Regions from separate parts of the Homo sapiens genome. Here all the other regions are linked to region 2. Evidence: promoter capture Hi-C in 16 types of primary human blood cells and fetal thymus (Javierre and others, 2016). All regions are on one chromosome and are shown on one strand. The core of a region is centred on a gene start or on the middle of the fragment in contact, and the rest is flanking DNA. Distances in the headings are between cores, read along the strand shown.

Evidence for each region. Contacts are between HindIII fragments. The CHiCAGO score rates a contact against its expected background, and 5 or more counts as called.
Region 1: a fragment that was not itself captured here is called in contact with the fragment with the promoter of PLEKHG1 in region 2 in 2 of 17 cell types (total B cells and naive B cells); the score reaches 6.1 in total B cells.
Region 3: a fragment that was not itself captured here is called in contact with the fragment with the promoter of PLEKHG1 in region 2 in 3 of 17 cell types (naive B cells, total B cells and fetal thymus); the score reaches 14.2 in naive B cells.
Region 4: a contact is called between a fragment that was not itself captured here and the fragment with the promoter of PLEKHG1 in region 2, in 3 of 17 cell types (total B cells, endothelial precursors and naive B cells). The highest score is 11.5, in total B cells.
Region 5: a contact is called between a fragment that was not itself captured here and the fragment with the promoter of PLEKHG1 in region 2, in 3 of 17 cell types (total B cells, naive B cells and fetal thymus). The highest score is 14.4, in total B cells.

What each region holds. Positions count from the first base shown.
Region 1 is chr6:150,782,583-150,785,346 of GRCh38, forward strand. The region is part of intron 4 of PLEKHG1 (pleckstrin homology and RhoGEF domain containing G1); the gene reads left to right. Among named protein-coding and RNA genes, the nearest start is that of MTHFD1L, 82 kb to the right of the region's middle. The HindIII fragment of the contact is 540 bases long and covers 1,158-1,697 here.
Region 2 is chr6:150,598,577-150,601,276 of GRCh38, forward strand. PLEKHG1 (pleckstrin homology and RhoGEF domain containing G1) reads left to right here and starts at 1,309. Exons shown (of 17, transcript NM_001029884.3): 1 at 1,309-1,441. RefSeq lists silencers at 797-856, 1,037-1,331, 1,127-1,606, 1,817-1,986. The HindIII fragment of the contact is 1,307 bases long and covers 890-2,196 here.
Region 3 is chr6:150,727,452-150,730,275 of GRCh38, forward strand. All of the region lies in intron 2 of PLEKHG1 (pleckstrin homology and RhoGEF domain containing G1), which reads left to right. Among named protein-coding and RNA genes, the nearest start is that of PLEKHG1, 130 kb to the left of the region's middle. The HindIII fragment of the contact is 1,746 bases long and covers 512-2,257 here.
Region 4 is chr6:150,429,186-150,432,083 of GRCh38, forward strand. No RefSeq gene overlaps it. Among named protein-coding and RNA genes, the nearest start is that of IYD, 62 kb to the left of the region's middle. The HindIII fragment of the contact is 3,201 bases long and covers 1-2,853 here.
Region 5 is chr6:150,758,858-150,761,707 of GRCh38, forward strand. The region is part of intron 3 of PLEKHG1 (pleckstrin homology and RhoGEF domain containing G1); the gene reads left to right. Among named protein-coding and RNA genes, the nearest start is that of MTHFD1L, 110 kb to the right of the region's middle. The HindIII fragment of the contact is 5,411 bases long and covers 1-2,850 here.

The sequences.
Region 1 (2,764 bases), core at 178-2,677, 180 kb after region 2:
TGTGTGCGACTGGATTTTTTTCCTATATACTTCAACCAAAACAACAGATTGCAACAGATAGAATGCAGAAGCAGATAGGACAATCCAGCTATGTTCTATTAAGTTAGAGATTACAAATTTGCAAAAAGGGGAAATAATGCTACTCTTCTCACTAAATTTTTTAAGAGTATAAACAGGTCCTGATGCCAAAAGTTTCAGAACCACTGCCTTGGAATGAGGAACACCACACAATAAACTCCATCCCTGCGAAGAGTTCATGATTGACGTTGTGGCTCATTTTCAAATATGAAAGGACAAATGAAGATACTCAGAATTTGAGAAGAGCATCTAACATGAATGACAGAAGCTAAAATCATCAAAAAGGGAGCTCAGCAGAAAACAAAGAACAGGAAAGAAAAGTACAAAATCATTATGATCATCATCATGGCGAGTTTGGAAATAAGGGAAGATTTTGCACGCATGAAATAAGAACAAAAGCATAAGCAAGAAACATCCAAAACACATGTTTAAAAAAAAACTTTGAAATTGAAAATCTGATGGTTGAAACAAAACAAAAAAATCAATAAAAGAAATGGGGAAAAAAAACTAAAAAAAAAAAAAAAAAGGGAAATAAAGGGGAGGTCTCCCCCCACAAAAAATGGAGGAATGAAAACAGGAAGATAGAGAGTAGAAGAGGAAGAGTAAGGAAAATTAGCGTATTAGACCAGGAGATCCAATATGTGAGTAATAGGAACTTTAAAACTGCAAGGGAGGAAATATCAAAGACATAATTCACGAGCAGAGATTCTTCTTTTTTTTTTTTTTTTAACGGAGTCTCACTTTTGTCACCCAGGCTGGAGTGCAATGGTGCAATCTCGGCTCACTGCAATCTCTGCCTCCCAGGCTCAAGTGATTCTCCTGCCTCAGCCTCCTGAGTAGCTGGGACTGCAGGTGTGTGCCACCACACCCAGCTAATTTTTGAATTTTTGGTAGAGATGGGGTTTCACTGTGTTGGCCGTGCTGGTCCCGAACTCCTGACCTCAGGTCATCTGCCCACCTTGGCCTCCCAGAGTGCTGGGATTATAGGCATGAGCCACCACATCCAGCCAGGAGCAGAGATTCTCAAGTGTTTTGGTCCAGGATCTCTTACATGCTTAAAAATTACTAAGGACTGAAAAAGCTTTTTTGTTTATGTTTTATTATGTTTTGTTTGCCACATTAGAAATGAAAACCGAGAACCTGTTAAGATGTCTATTTATTTAATACTAAAAAAGAACAAGCCCACATATTTCTAGAAAAATAATTTTACTACTTTTTCTACTAAATTTTTTTGTTTGTTTTGGAGCTGTTTTACATTTTTACAGATCTTGTTACTGCCTGACTTACTAGAAGACAGCTGAATTCTCATATCTGCTTCAACTTTCCATCTGTTGTGATATCACACGTCATGTAGCCTCTGGAAAAGTTCACTGTACTCTCATGAGAGAATGAAAGTTTAAGAATTTCATAATGTCTCAGTATTTTTATGAGGTCCAACCTTGTGGACCTCCTGAAGGGGTCTTGTCTCAGGAACCCCAGAGGTCGTTAGACCACACTTGGAGAACTGCTATCCAGATCATTTCCCAAATTTGTACATTTGCTCAGTGCATGAAAAAGACCCACCCAAAGCCTACTATCACAAAATTTTGTAATTATGTCAACTAAGAGAAAACTTTAAAAGCTTTCAGAATGGGCTGGGGGTCATCAGAATGATACTGGAATCTCAATAGCAGCATTGGAATCTATAAATCACAGGTAGACAAATAGCTCCCTGAGTACTCAGAGAAAATTACTTCCAACCAAGACTTTTATATCTACTGACATCATTAGCCAAGTGCGAAGGGAGAACATTTTTGAAACAGGAAGAGTCTCAGAAAGCATACCTTCTGTTACTCTTACTCAGAAACTATTGCTCGATTTTGTAATCTCCCAAAGGAAGGAATACATTGGAAATAGCAATACAGAAGACCAGCAAAGGCTATCATTAGGATGGTGTTGAAGAAACAACCAGCAGGCCTGGACAGCAGCCTGTCCAGGTTGGAGCAGAGGTCACCAAGAAAGAAATGCAAAGCATAGAATATCTGATATTTGAACACAGTGAGACAAGATTGATACTTCTGGCATACAATTTGCTAATAAATTAATGGTCTTTATCTTGAAAAAAGAAAAAAAAAGAGAAACAATTTTAACTCCAGGGAAAACATGATTCTCTAAGAAAGGAAATGAAATCATAGTATACTCTGAGGCTAACAGGGCATAATACTTACATAGTCTTAAAGATGTAAATTCTGACATTTAATCGAATCAAATTACATAACAGAACTAGTTAAGAAGGCTGGCCACGGTTGCTCACACTACCCAGCGCTTCAGAAAGATCACTTGAGCCCAGGAAGACCTGCCTGGTTGACAGAGTGAGACCCTGTCTCTAAAATTAAAAAAAAAAAAAAGAGAGAGAGAGACATCTTAGAACTAGTTGAGAAGACAGAAGGGTAAGTTTGAGGAAACTGAGAGTAAATAATACCTAAAGTTGAAAAATAATGAAAACACATTATCAGCATGGTTAGAAGCATGGACCTTCTTAGAGCAGAAATAGCCTAAAGAATCAAAAATGCTTCTGGGCAGTGCCCATCGAGAATGAGAATCTGAAAACCAGAAACTGCTTGTTTTTATCATAATTCCTGTAGAACTACTTCACTTTTTATTAAATATATAGCATATGACTCATTAAAATAAATACTTAGCATAG
Region 2 (2,700 bases), core at 59-2,558:
GAAAGGCGACTAGCACCTGTCCTGTCAACCTCACAAGGTTATCGCAAGGCCAACTGAAACAATGCTTTGAAGATGGCAAATGTCTGTTTTAGTCCCATTGCAAATCTACCGTGGTAAATGTATTCCAAGCATAACCCAGTCCCATAGTTTTAGGTAATACAAGTCAGTTGTGGAGACTCAAATTATAAAACAGAACATAAACTCCACGTGGTAGAGAACTGTGATGCTGTGTAGCCTTACTGCACAAACCTTGTTTTGTTCCCAGTCTTTATGATAATTTCCATAATCATGTATATGCATAAAAGCAGATAAAAGGCAAAAATCAACAAGAATAGCTAACATTTATTCAGGCTGTAGAGCATGTGCCAGACAGTCTCCTAAGCCCTTCACGCACATTCTCTTATTTAAATCACATACAGCAACTCTATGAGGTAGGCACTATCATCATCATCATCATCATCATCTCCATTTTACAGATGAGGAAACAGACAGAACACAGAGAGGTTAAAGCGTTCTCTCAAGGCCACACAGCTAGCAAGTGGTAAGGCTGAAGGTCTGTTAACAACTAAGAGTGCAATCAAATCCACCACCAAACCTAAGGGGGTCCACAGGCGACCCTGATACGTCCGACTTTGGCGGGAGATTAGTGTTAAGAAATGACTTCACATGCCTTTAACTGTCGCTGCAGGCACCTTTGATTGGAGTCATAACTTTACTGCAGAGCCGGTGCCTTTAAACATCTCTCTGGCTGTCACCGGTTATTCTTTACCTCCGTTTCCACTTTTACTTTCTCTAGGCAAAGGTCGTTTGGTGCTTTAACCGAGGTGATTAGGGTAATGACGCCTGAAGAACACCGGGCTTCCCCCTCTTTTCACTTGATTACCGGCAAAGCTTCTATGTAAAACTAGAATGTTCACTAAAACCATGATTTTGGGTATTATTTTAAAGGACTCACATAGGAAATTATTACGTCCAAAGGAAAGCTAAACCTGAAGAGCTAGGAAAATGAAAAAAAGTGATGTGTCTGCGAAAACAGTAGCAGAATTAAAAAAAAAAAAAACTTTATTCCCCCCGAAGCTGTAATTTGACTGTTCTCTTTGGCAAGGCTCCAGAGACAAGGCCAAGTGCCTAATTTCTCTTTCTCTTCGCCCCCCTCCTCTCCACCTTTTTCACCCTCAGGGCAGAGGGGAGGCGGGACGAGCGATCCACTGCTCCGGCCGCCGAAGCTGGCGTCTGGGCGCGGGGAGGGGCGGGCCGGGGCGCGGCCGAGCAGTGGGGCCGAGCCCGAGGAAGAGGAAGTCGGAGCCCGAGCCTGAGCCCGAGCCCGAGCCCGACGGCGGCTGCAGGGCGCTCCGGCAGCCCGAGCCGGCGCAGCGCAGCCCGCACCCTCCCCGCCCGACCTGCGAGCGCCGCCCGGGCATGCGAAGCCGTCCCTCCCCGGGTAAGCGCCGGTCGGGCCCGGACGCCCTGGGGACTTTTCCAGGGATGGGAGGGGGGACCCGGGGACCTCCGGCGGGAGCCCCACATCCGCAGGTGGGGCCGGGCGGAGCGTGGTACCCGGGCCCCGCCGGCCCCCTGCGCGCCCCTCCGCAGTGGGGACGGAGGGCCTTGGGGGGCGCCGAGCGGTGGGGACAGAGGGCGCCGGGGGCACCGCGCGGTGGGGACGGAGGGCGCTGGGGGGCGCCGCGTCTCGGGGGTCGGAGTCGGGTCGGGGATGCTGCCCGCCGCCGCCCCGCTTGGGGTTCCGCGCCCCCAAGTTCCCGGTGCTCCCGCCCCTCGCCCCAGCGGCTGCAACATCAGCGCGCAGAGGAGTTTCTGCGAGCACCCGGGAGTTGTAGCCACCGCTTCCCCACCCCCGACTCAGCAGGACAGCCCCAGAACGGGACCCCACAGCCAGTCAGCTGGGTCAGCTCCCCAGCAGCGAAGCCGGGAGCCCGAGGACCCGGGGACGCGCGGTGGGGGCGGCGGCCGAGCTGCTGCGGCGCTCAGGGCTTGGGGGCGCCCCCGTTCTGCAGATGCGCTTTTCAGGGGGTGGGGAGTCAAGAGCCTGTGGCTCTTCCGTCACGGGGTAAACGGTAACACCTGGGCGGCCGCGACTCTGCGAGCGTTCTGGCCTCGGCGGGCGGCGGGGAACCGCAGTGATGCCCGAGCTCGCCCCTTTTGTGTCCTCGCGGTGAGCCCCGTTCCGAAGCCGGAAGCTTGGGAACGCTCTAACTGGGAGAACGGCGCTCGGCTGGTCAATTCATTCCGCTCCTCGGAAACAATGAGCTGGATCCTTGACTTGAATGTGCTGGCGGAGCGGGGTTTGTAAGCCGGCGTTTCATCCAGCTCTGGTCCTCAAGGCGCCCTTTGTACCACCCGCAGGTGGCCGAGGCTACTGCACGTATTTTCGAAATCACCGAGTGTGGGTGTTTGGGGCAGGTATCACCCCGCGAGGACCATCTCAGACTGAGAGTTGGTTTAGGAGTTTTGAACAGATTGGATACAGAACTATATTGTGTTTTGTATTTAGACCGGGGGAAAGACTAGAATGTTAACTCTAGGGTCCAGTTTGTCATCTAACAGAATTCCGGGCTTGGGTAGGTCCTGTAATGCGGTACAATAACAACCAGGTGTTAAAACCGGCATCTTCTGGATTCTCAGATTCTGTAGACAGCATACTTCTAAAAAATGTAGAGATTTTGGATTTTGATTAAATTG
Region 3 (2,824 bases), core at 135-2,634, 130 kb after region 2:
AATGGAAGTTGGAAGAGCAAAGAAGGAAAAGCCATGGAATTCCAATGTTTTCACCCAGAAAAAATTAGAGGGATTTGTCATGAAGTAAAAAGTATGAAAGTCTAGCTACATAGAAGCTGTCTAGGCATCTTTTCCTTTTATTAAGGATGGCACAAAAAAAAAAAGAATATTTTATTTGGTTGGCTTTTAGGCTAACCAGTGCTTTTCATTGTGCGACTCAGTAAGTCTCTAAGGTTCCTCTATGGATACTTCCACCCCCACCACCTCCAGGTTTACCAAAGGTGAGATTGATCACAATCCTCTAAGTGGGTGGAACCAGCTTATTTTAGGGTCAAAAGATATACCTGATATAAGCCATTCGCAAGGTTTGGCCAGAAATTCCCAGAAATTCTTACATTGTTGGCCCTGTGCTTGGGATTTTGGAATAGACAGAAGTTATGAGAAGAAAAGCAGCAACTTACCCAAATGCTAATACAACCTGCTAACATCTTTCACTCAAGGCAAGTGAAAAAGCTTTCTTGCCCTACAGATTTTTATCTGGATGTTTCAGTTTGTCAGGGAAAATCAGTTAGCCCAGTATCTGCTACACAGAGATGACCTCCCAACTCTATTTTTGCTAATTTTTAACAATATTGTGCATTAATAAGTGGAGTAAAAAACAAAAATGCAAACTTTGAGTTGTATGTATCTCTGCATTCACTATTATTTGAACAAAGATTGATAAAGAGGTAAATTTAAATCTTCAAGAATAATGTAATTATATCAAAGACTTCTAGATCAGCATTGTCTGACTAAAATATATATGAACTACTTATGTAATTTTTTATTTTCTAGTAGCAACAGTATAAAAAAGTAAAATGATGCCGGGGCAGTGGCTTACACCTATAATCTCAGCACTTTGGGAGGCCAAGATGGGAGGATCACTTGAGCCCAGGAGTTCAAGACCAGCCTGGGCAACATAGAAAGACTTCATCTCTAGAAAAATTAAAAATAAAATTAGCTTGGTATGGTGGCGTGGTCCCAGCTATTTGGGAGGCTGAGGTGGGAGGATGGCTTGAACCCAGGAGTGAGCCATGATTGTGCCACTGCACTCCAGCCTGGGTGACAGAGTGAGACCCTGTTTCAAAAAATAAAAATAAGAATAAATTTAAAATAAAAAAAGTAGGCCGGGCTCAGTGGCTCACACCTGTAATCCCAGCACTTTGGGAGGCCAAGGCGGGTAGATCACGAGGTCAGGAGTTCGAGACCAGCCTGGCCAACATGGTGAAACCCCATCTCTACTAAAAGTACAAAAATTAGCCAGGCATGGTGGCGGGCGCCTGTAATCCCAGCTACTCAGGAGGCTGAGGCAGGAGAATTGCTTGAACCCAGGAGGTGGAGGTTGCAGTGAGCCGAGATTGCACCATTGCACTCCAGCCTGGGCAACAAGAGCAAAACTCTGTCTCAAAAAAGAAAAAAAAGTAAAATGAAACCAGTGAAAATAATCTCAGTGAGATATTTAACCTAATCCAAAATATTATTTCAATACACAAATACAAAAATTATTAATGAGGTATTTTATTTCATGTTTTTAGTTTTATACTAAGTTACTGAAATCTGGTGTGTATCTTACATCTCAATTCAGACTGACTGTGTTTGTTTGTTTATTTATTTATTTAGGGTCAAGGTCTCACTTTGCCACCCAGGCTGCAGTGCAGTGGCACAATCATGGCTTACCACAGCCTTGACTCCAAGTAGCTGGGACTACAGGCACAGGCCGTCACACCTGGCTAATTTTTTGTATTTTTTGTATTTGAGATGGGGTTTTACTAGGTTGCCCAGGCTAGTCTCGAACTCCTGAGCTCAAGTGATCCGCCTGCCTCAGCCTCCCAAAGTGCTGGAATTACAGGCATGAGCCACTGTGCCCAGCCTGGCTGCGTTTCAAGTTCTCAGTAGCCACATGTGGCCACTGGTTACTGTGTGGAGCAACACAGCTCTAGAGATAAATGTTAATAATTGGTGAGTTGCATTAGAATAGGCCAGACAGGGTGGAAATCTTAAATTATTTTGAGGAAAGTGAGAACAAGACTAGACAGTTTTTATGAGGTGCATTTTCCTACGTGAGGAAACTATAATTATCTTCTAAGCAATGAATCAACATAAAAAATGTTAGCCATTAGCAAGTGTGGTCTCATATTACGTGCCATTATATGACCTGACTTTAAATGTTTCACTTCTGTCATTGGTAATTTTGGAAGGTCTTTAGTTTGGGGTGGTAAGCTTGGCTAAATGCTACGGACACCAAACTTCTGAAATGGTCTATTTTAGAAAATGCCTGGTTGGCAGCCAGGCCTGTACGTGGACTGGCATTGGAACATTTGAAGCTTTCCCCGCAGCGGTGCCCCCTCCATGTTGCTATTTAAGATCTATCCATGAAGGGGTCCCTATTGATCTGAGTTTTATATTCCACTCTTTCCCACCTTTGAAAGTATTTCTAAAGACATTGTCATTTCTAGCAGCCCAACCTAGGATCCTCTAAAAGCAGTTTTTATTCCTCTTTAATCCTTCTGTCCCAATATTGGGTATCTAATATAAAGTGAAAGTAAGTAGAGAAAAGAAATGATGATAAGAAAATAATGTGTCTCTCTGTTGTGTCCATTTTTCTCTAGTCCTGATCATCAATGTAGTGCCAAGAGTTTTGTAACTGTGTGAAAAACAGTTTTCTATTCTGGAGAGATAGATTCTTCTCCGGTTACAAAATCAGAACTTGCCCTAGAGACAGTATGTGCAGATCTGTAGGGGGTAGACCTTTCCAGATGTCTTGGCCTTTCAACTTTTTTGACAC
Region 4 (2,898 bases), core at 3-2,502, 170 kb before region 2:
AGGCGAGTAGGAGGGGCAAACAGTGTGATTTTAGCTACAAGACAAAAGTTCAGTAGATAAGGCAAACCTTTCACATTCTGAAAGTCAACATGGATGTGGGATCAGACTTAAAAAGGAAGCAGCAGCCCTGGAAATGGGGAAGGAAGCTACAGAGGAGTCACTCCACAAAGAGAAACAACTCCAAGGAGCTCTACTCTTAGAGGGGGTAGAAGCTGGAGAGGGAGGGTCCAGCGGCAGCCAACTAGAAAATAAGCTGAGGCCCTAAGTGGGCAAACATTCCCACACCTACCTCGACTCCTAGGCCAGGCTATTGCAACAGAGAGGTAGCCTAAGATGAAGAGAAAGAGCAGACCCTGCAATGTGCAAGAGGACAAGTCAATCCCCACAAGCACGTGTAAGTCAAGCCTCTGGTCATGTTGTGCCTGCTAACATCCCATTGGCCAAAGTAATTCAGATGGTCATGCTCAAAGACAGATGTGACAGCAGGTGCTCCACCCCCATCTAGCACACTGTCACATGGCAGAGGAAGAAACGAGAATGATCCAGATTGATGACAGTGCAGCCAGGAGGACAGTGTGTCCCCCGCTCAGGATTGGACTCCCCACCAGAGGCAACACTTCCCTCCCAGCTCATCCTCGCCAACTTGGCCATGAATGTGGCTGATATAAGCCCACCAGTGGGGAGGAAGTACAGGAAGGCCTTAGGCCGTGTTGCCCATCTCAGTGTGGTAGAAGCTGCAGAAGTTGCCCGCGGTGAGCTGGCGCGTGTGGTTCTGGTGGGTTCTGATGCCCAGACACAGTTCCTCTAGTTGTTAGAGCTCTGCTTGCCAAAAAGACCTATTCTACTGCTCCGATCACAGGTCTCATCCCTTGCATCTCCACCCCTGGAGGGCATCTAGGGGAGCAGCAGGACCAGGCCATGGGCCAACCTTGAGCCTGGGAGGCCAGGCTGATTATCTGGGGGCAAAATAGTGCTTCCCTAAGTCTAGCACGTGAGGAGTGAATTGTCTGCCCCACCCCAGGCCAGTGAACTCAGGTCTGGGCTTTGGCCTGGCTGCTGGGCCTAGGAGTGGAAATGGGCCTAGGAGTGAAAGGGGGGAGTTGATCCATCGAGGCTGGGTCATAGGTGGATTCTAAGGGAAAGTTTAGCCACAGAGAAGGAGCAAGTGGGTTTGAGAGACAGGAGCCTCGAACTGCTCTGGGACTCAAGAGCACTGGGCAAGAAGGTTGGCATCTGTGCCAACCCCAGGGAAGAAAAGGAAGCTGTGTGGGCACCCCACCCATTTGGATAACTACTCCATTTTGCCAATAAGAACCATGGAGCTTGTTAAGAATCAATGAAAGGGTCACTTCTGTCATGCCATTAGGATTATACCATCCGCTCATTTGAATTATTTTCTAATTAGATGACCAGCTAATCAATAATGATCCCTTAGTCAATAATGTTTGGATAAAAGGGCTTCTACTATGCGGACTGACAGTCAGGATCTAGGGTTTAAAATTTTTTTTTCCCCAATGAATTGAATGATCAGTTTACATGCACATGGCACCTTTAAATGTTTGGATTAGGCTGTGTAGAGTTAGCAGACATGCCTGCAGGATGTAACCTTGTGGAATTTCTTGCAGGAAGATGCTGCAGCGACAGCAATGACAAGAAGGCCCCTGCCAGTTAGTTGCTGAGCTGGCTGCAAGGGGGCATTGGGCTTGGGTGGGCCAAGCTAGCCCTGGGCCTCATCCCCACCTGCAAAGGAACTGCCAGCAGTGCTGTGAGTGGCCAGAAGCCAGCCCAAGCTGGGAGGTGGTGGTTCTACACAGGCCAGCCGGGTGGGTCGGCATTAATATTTGCATGATGTCATGAAGGGTCTCATTTCACCAGCACGCACTTCCTAGCCTAGAAATTCAAAAGCCTCATTCTTTGCAGCCTGGAGGAATTTTTTTTTTAACGATGTCTCGCTGTTTTTCCCAGGCTGGAGTGAAGTGGCGTGATTTCAGCTCACTGCAACCTCCACCCCCCAGGTTCAAGCGATTCTCCTGCCTCAGCCTCCCGAGTGCCTGGGATTACAGGCACATGCCATCACGCCCGGCTAATTTTTTGTACTTTTATTAGTGATGGGGGTTTCGCCATGTAGGCCGGACTGGTCTCAAATTCCTGACCTCAGGTGATCCGCCTGCCTCGGCTTTCCAAAGTGCTGGAATTACAGGTGTGAGCCACCGCACCCAGCTGAGGATTTTATTTTCCCAGTAAAAATGTAGAACCAGAAGCAGGAGGGGGGAACTACTCATACCTGCCATATACGTTCTTCAGAATATGTATCTTTCACAACTGAAAAAAAAATTAAAGAAGGAAAGATGACAATCAGGGGGTTTTACACAAGATCTCTCTGGGCAGGTTTCTCATTTTTCTCTGCCAGATGCTGCCTTCTGCGGAAGACAGATCATGGGGCAAAGGAGGGCTGAGCTCAGGGCTTCCTGCCCTGGCCCTTGGTTTCTCTCCTGCAGAATATGGGGGCTCGGCTGGATGATTTCTGAGGGCAATCCCCCGCAACCCCGACTAATAGTCTTCTATGATTTGAGGCTCTCAGCTCCTTTTTGGCACTATTTATGTATTTATGCCTTTACTTACTTTTGGCTGAGTTTTCATTTTACTCCTAAATAGTACTTGGGTTTATGCCAGTGTAACTGTGGGACCAGCTGAGACTGATTAGCCATTGCTTAAGTTGTCACAGGTAATGCAGAGCCAAAATTGCCCGGGCATGTGCAATGGGAAAAGTGTTAACCTCCTTATTGTTACCACCACCAGCCTGGCAGACCAGCTGCATTGACATCACCTGGGACCAGTAAGAAAGGCCACAGAAGCTTGACCCACACCTGCAACTGGGGAGACGATTTGAGCATCGCC
Region 5 (2,850 bases), core at 206-2,705, 160 kb after region 2:
TCTTCATTTCTGATTTGTCTTCATTTCAGAATGATTCCTAATTCTCTAGAGCTAAAACACCCTGCTTTCCAGGCTCCCCATCATGTCATGATTTCATATTACTTGAAAGTAGCATGGTGCTCAGAGAGCTGATCGAATGCGTCTGCCCTGACTCCCTGTGACTGGTTTGGGGAAGGAGTGTGTTTCTGTGGGACGAGGTATATAGAGACTTGTCCATAAAGAGGGATCAAGTGGCCCACCGTGTGGTGGCTGGCAAGAAATGGGATGTCTTAAAGGAGTGTAAAGGCATGCATTAGTGAGAAGGAAGGACGAGAACTCATGAGCCAGTCTTGAACGTGGCAGATGGTTGAAAGCTGGTGTGCTTGGCTGAAGGAAAACATGCCATGGGATGTATACATATGAAAACATGAAGGCAGTGGGTACCGCATGTGAATGGGACTGATCCTAATTCAGATATAGCCTGTGATGATCTTGGCAGGTGGGAGGTGCCTAGTCAATCAGGGTGGCTGTTTTTGGTTGGCTCCTACCTGACACCTGATAAAAATTACCTTTAACTCTCAAAATTAATCATCAGCAAACCCCTCCTCCTGTTTAAATATACTGTGTTAAGGTATAAAACCTTTGAAGTGACCCTGTAGGGTTTCAGTGCCCAGGCTATTGTCAGCAGATCCTGGTTTGAGCATGGCTTGAGGCATTTACTCTCTGTGTGACCTCAGGGGAGTGATGGAGCCTTTCTCAGCTTCCGGGAAAATGGGATGAGTGGGACCCGTCTCCTAGGGTTGCGGTGAAGATGAAATGAGAGAATGCATATAAAGCAGACAGCTCAGTGCTTAGCAATAAACTTTAAAATAACAACAATGATGATTGCCGGGTGTGGTAGCTTATGCCTATAAGCCCAGCACTTTGGGAGGCTGAGGTGGGAGGATCACTTGAGGTCAGGAGTCTCCTGGGCAACATAGTGAGACCCTATCTTTACAAAAAAATAGAAAAGTTAGCCCAGTGTGGTGGTGTGAGCCTATAACCCCAGCTACTGGGAAGGCTGAGGCGGGAGATTGCTTAAGGCAGGATTTCCAGGTTGCAGTGAGCTGTGATCAAGCCACTGCATTCTCACCTGGATGACAGAGCCAGTCTCTAAACAAAAATAAAGAAAAAAGAGAAACCAATAATGATGATAAATAGCAGTGAGGAGTTAAAATTCAGATTATGTAATAATGTACATTTATTTTACTGATTTTTTTCCCCATATTAAAAACCCTTTGGGCTTTACTTAATTTTCCTTAATCACCATGTTTCAAATTACACCAGTAGTCCTCTGATTATAATGAAGATGAATCAGTTTCTTATTTTCAGATGCGTCAAGTGTTGCCAAGACATTGCATTCCTCCACCACCTCACCAGCCATTCCCATTTTCCACTTTAAGGATTATAGCCACATTTAATTGTGTCTGTCTGCTTCCTTACCTGGCCTGGGACCTGGAGAGTAAAAAGGTAGTTTAAAAAAGAAATAAAAAGCGTGTAAAGTTAACCTGATGACAAGGAAGACAAAGTTGTAGGAAAGGAAGTCAACTGGAGGGATCATTCTCAAAGGAGTGGTTAATAAACTTGCTTCAAATTTCTATCTAGTGAATGCCCACAGCAGCCTCATACTGAGCTTTACTCCAGGGGATTCTGGTAAACACGGTGGTGGCCCGTTTTGAAGACTTTAAAATACATAGTCTTCGAAGACTTTGTATTTACATGCATTCAACAGCACATAGATTATTTCAGAAATGCTTTGCTTTTTTTTTTTTTTTTTTGGTAGCTAGAAATAATGATAGGATTTACACTATAGAAAAAACAGTAATGGGAGGTTGCAAATAGGTCTGGAAAGATATTTCAGTATGCAACAGGACTTCATCATGGCCAACTGTCTACCTCTGTCAGTTTTAGAAGCACTTTGGCATATGAGAACGTTGTCAATGTAATTTGGAAACTGCAATTTCGAAAATAAATATTTAACAAGGCAACAAAATTAAGTTTTTCTGCTACGTTATTATTGTAAAAAGGCCTCTTATAAGGACTTTTCTAATTGTTATACCGAAAGGTAATATAAGGAACTGATTTTAGTGTTATGTTTATACCAAACTGCTTTTCCATTATTATAACTTTTTTAGGTTTCAGTACATTTATACACATCCACATGAAGTCAATAAATGACATCACTGTGAAGTAAATGAAAACAATTGATTTCTTTCTTTTTTTCTTTTTTTTTTTTTTTTTTTTTTTTGAGACAAAGTCTCACTCTATTGCCCAGGCTGGAGTGCAGTGGCACAATCATGGCTCACTGCAACCTCCACCTCCTGGGTTCAAGCGATTCTCCTGCCTCGGCCTCCCAAGTAGCTGGGACTACAGGGATGCGCCACCATGCCCAGCAAATTTTTGTATGTTTAGTAGAGACGAGGTTTCACCGTGTCAGCCAGGATGGTCTCGATTACTTGACCTTGTGATCCACCCAGGCTGGAGTGCAGTGGTGCGATCTCGGCTCACTACAACCTCCACCTCCCAGGTTCAAGCGATTGTCCTGCCTCAGCCTCTCGAGTAGCTGATATTACAGGCCTGTGCCACCACACCCAGCTAATTTTTGTATTTTTGTAGAGACGGGGTTTCAGGCTGGTCTCGAACTCCTGACCTCAGGTGATCCACCTGTCTCGGCCTCCCAAAGTGCTGGGATGCAGGGGTGAGCCACCACACCTGGCCTAAGACAATTGATTTCGGTAATGATTGTCAGAAGTGTAGGAAAAGATGGGCGTCCTGTTGCTTTAAGAACTTTAACATATTAATACTAATTCTATTTCTTAATTTCTTGTTCAT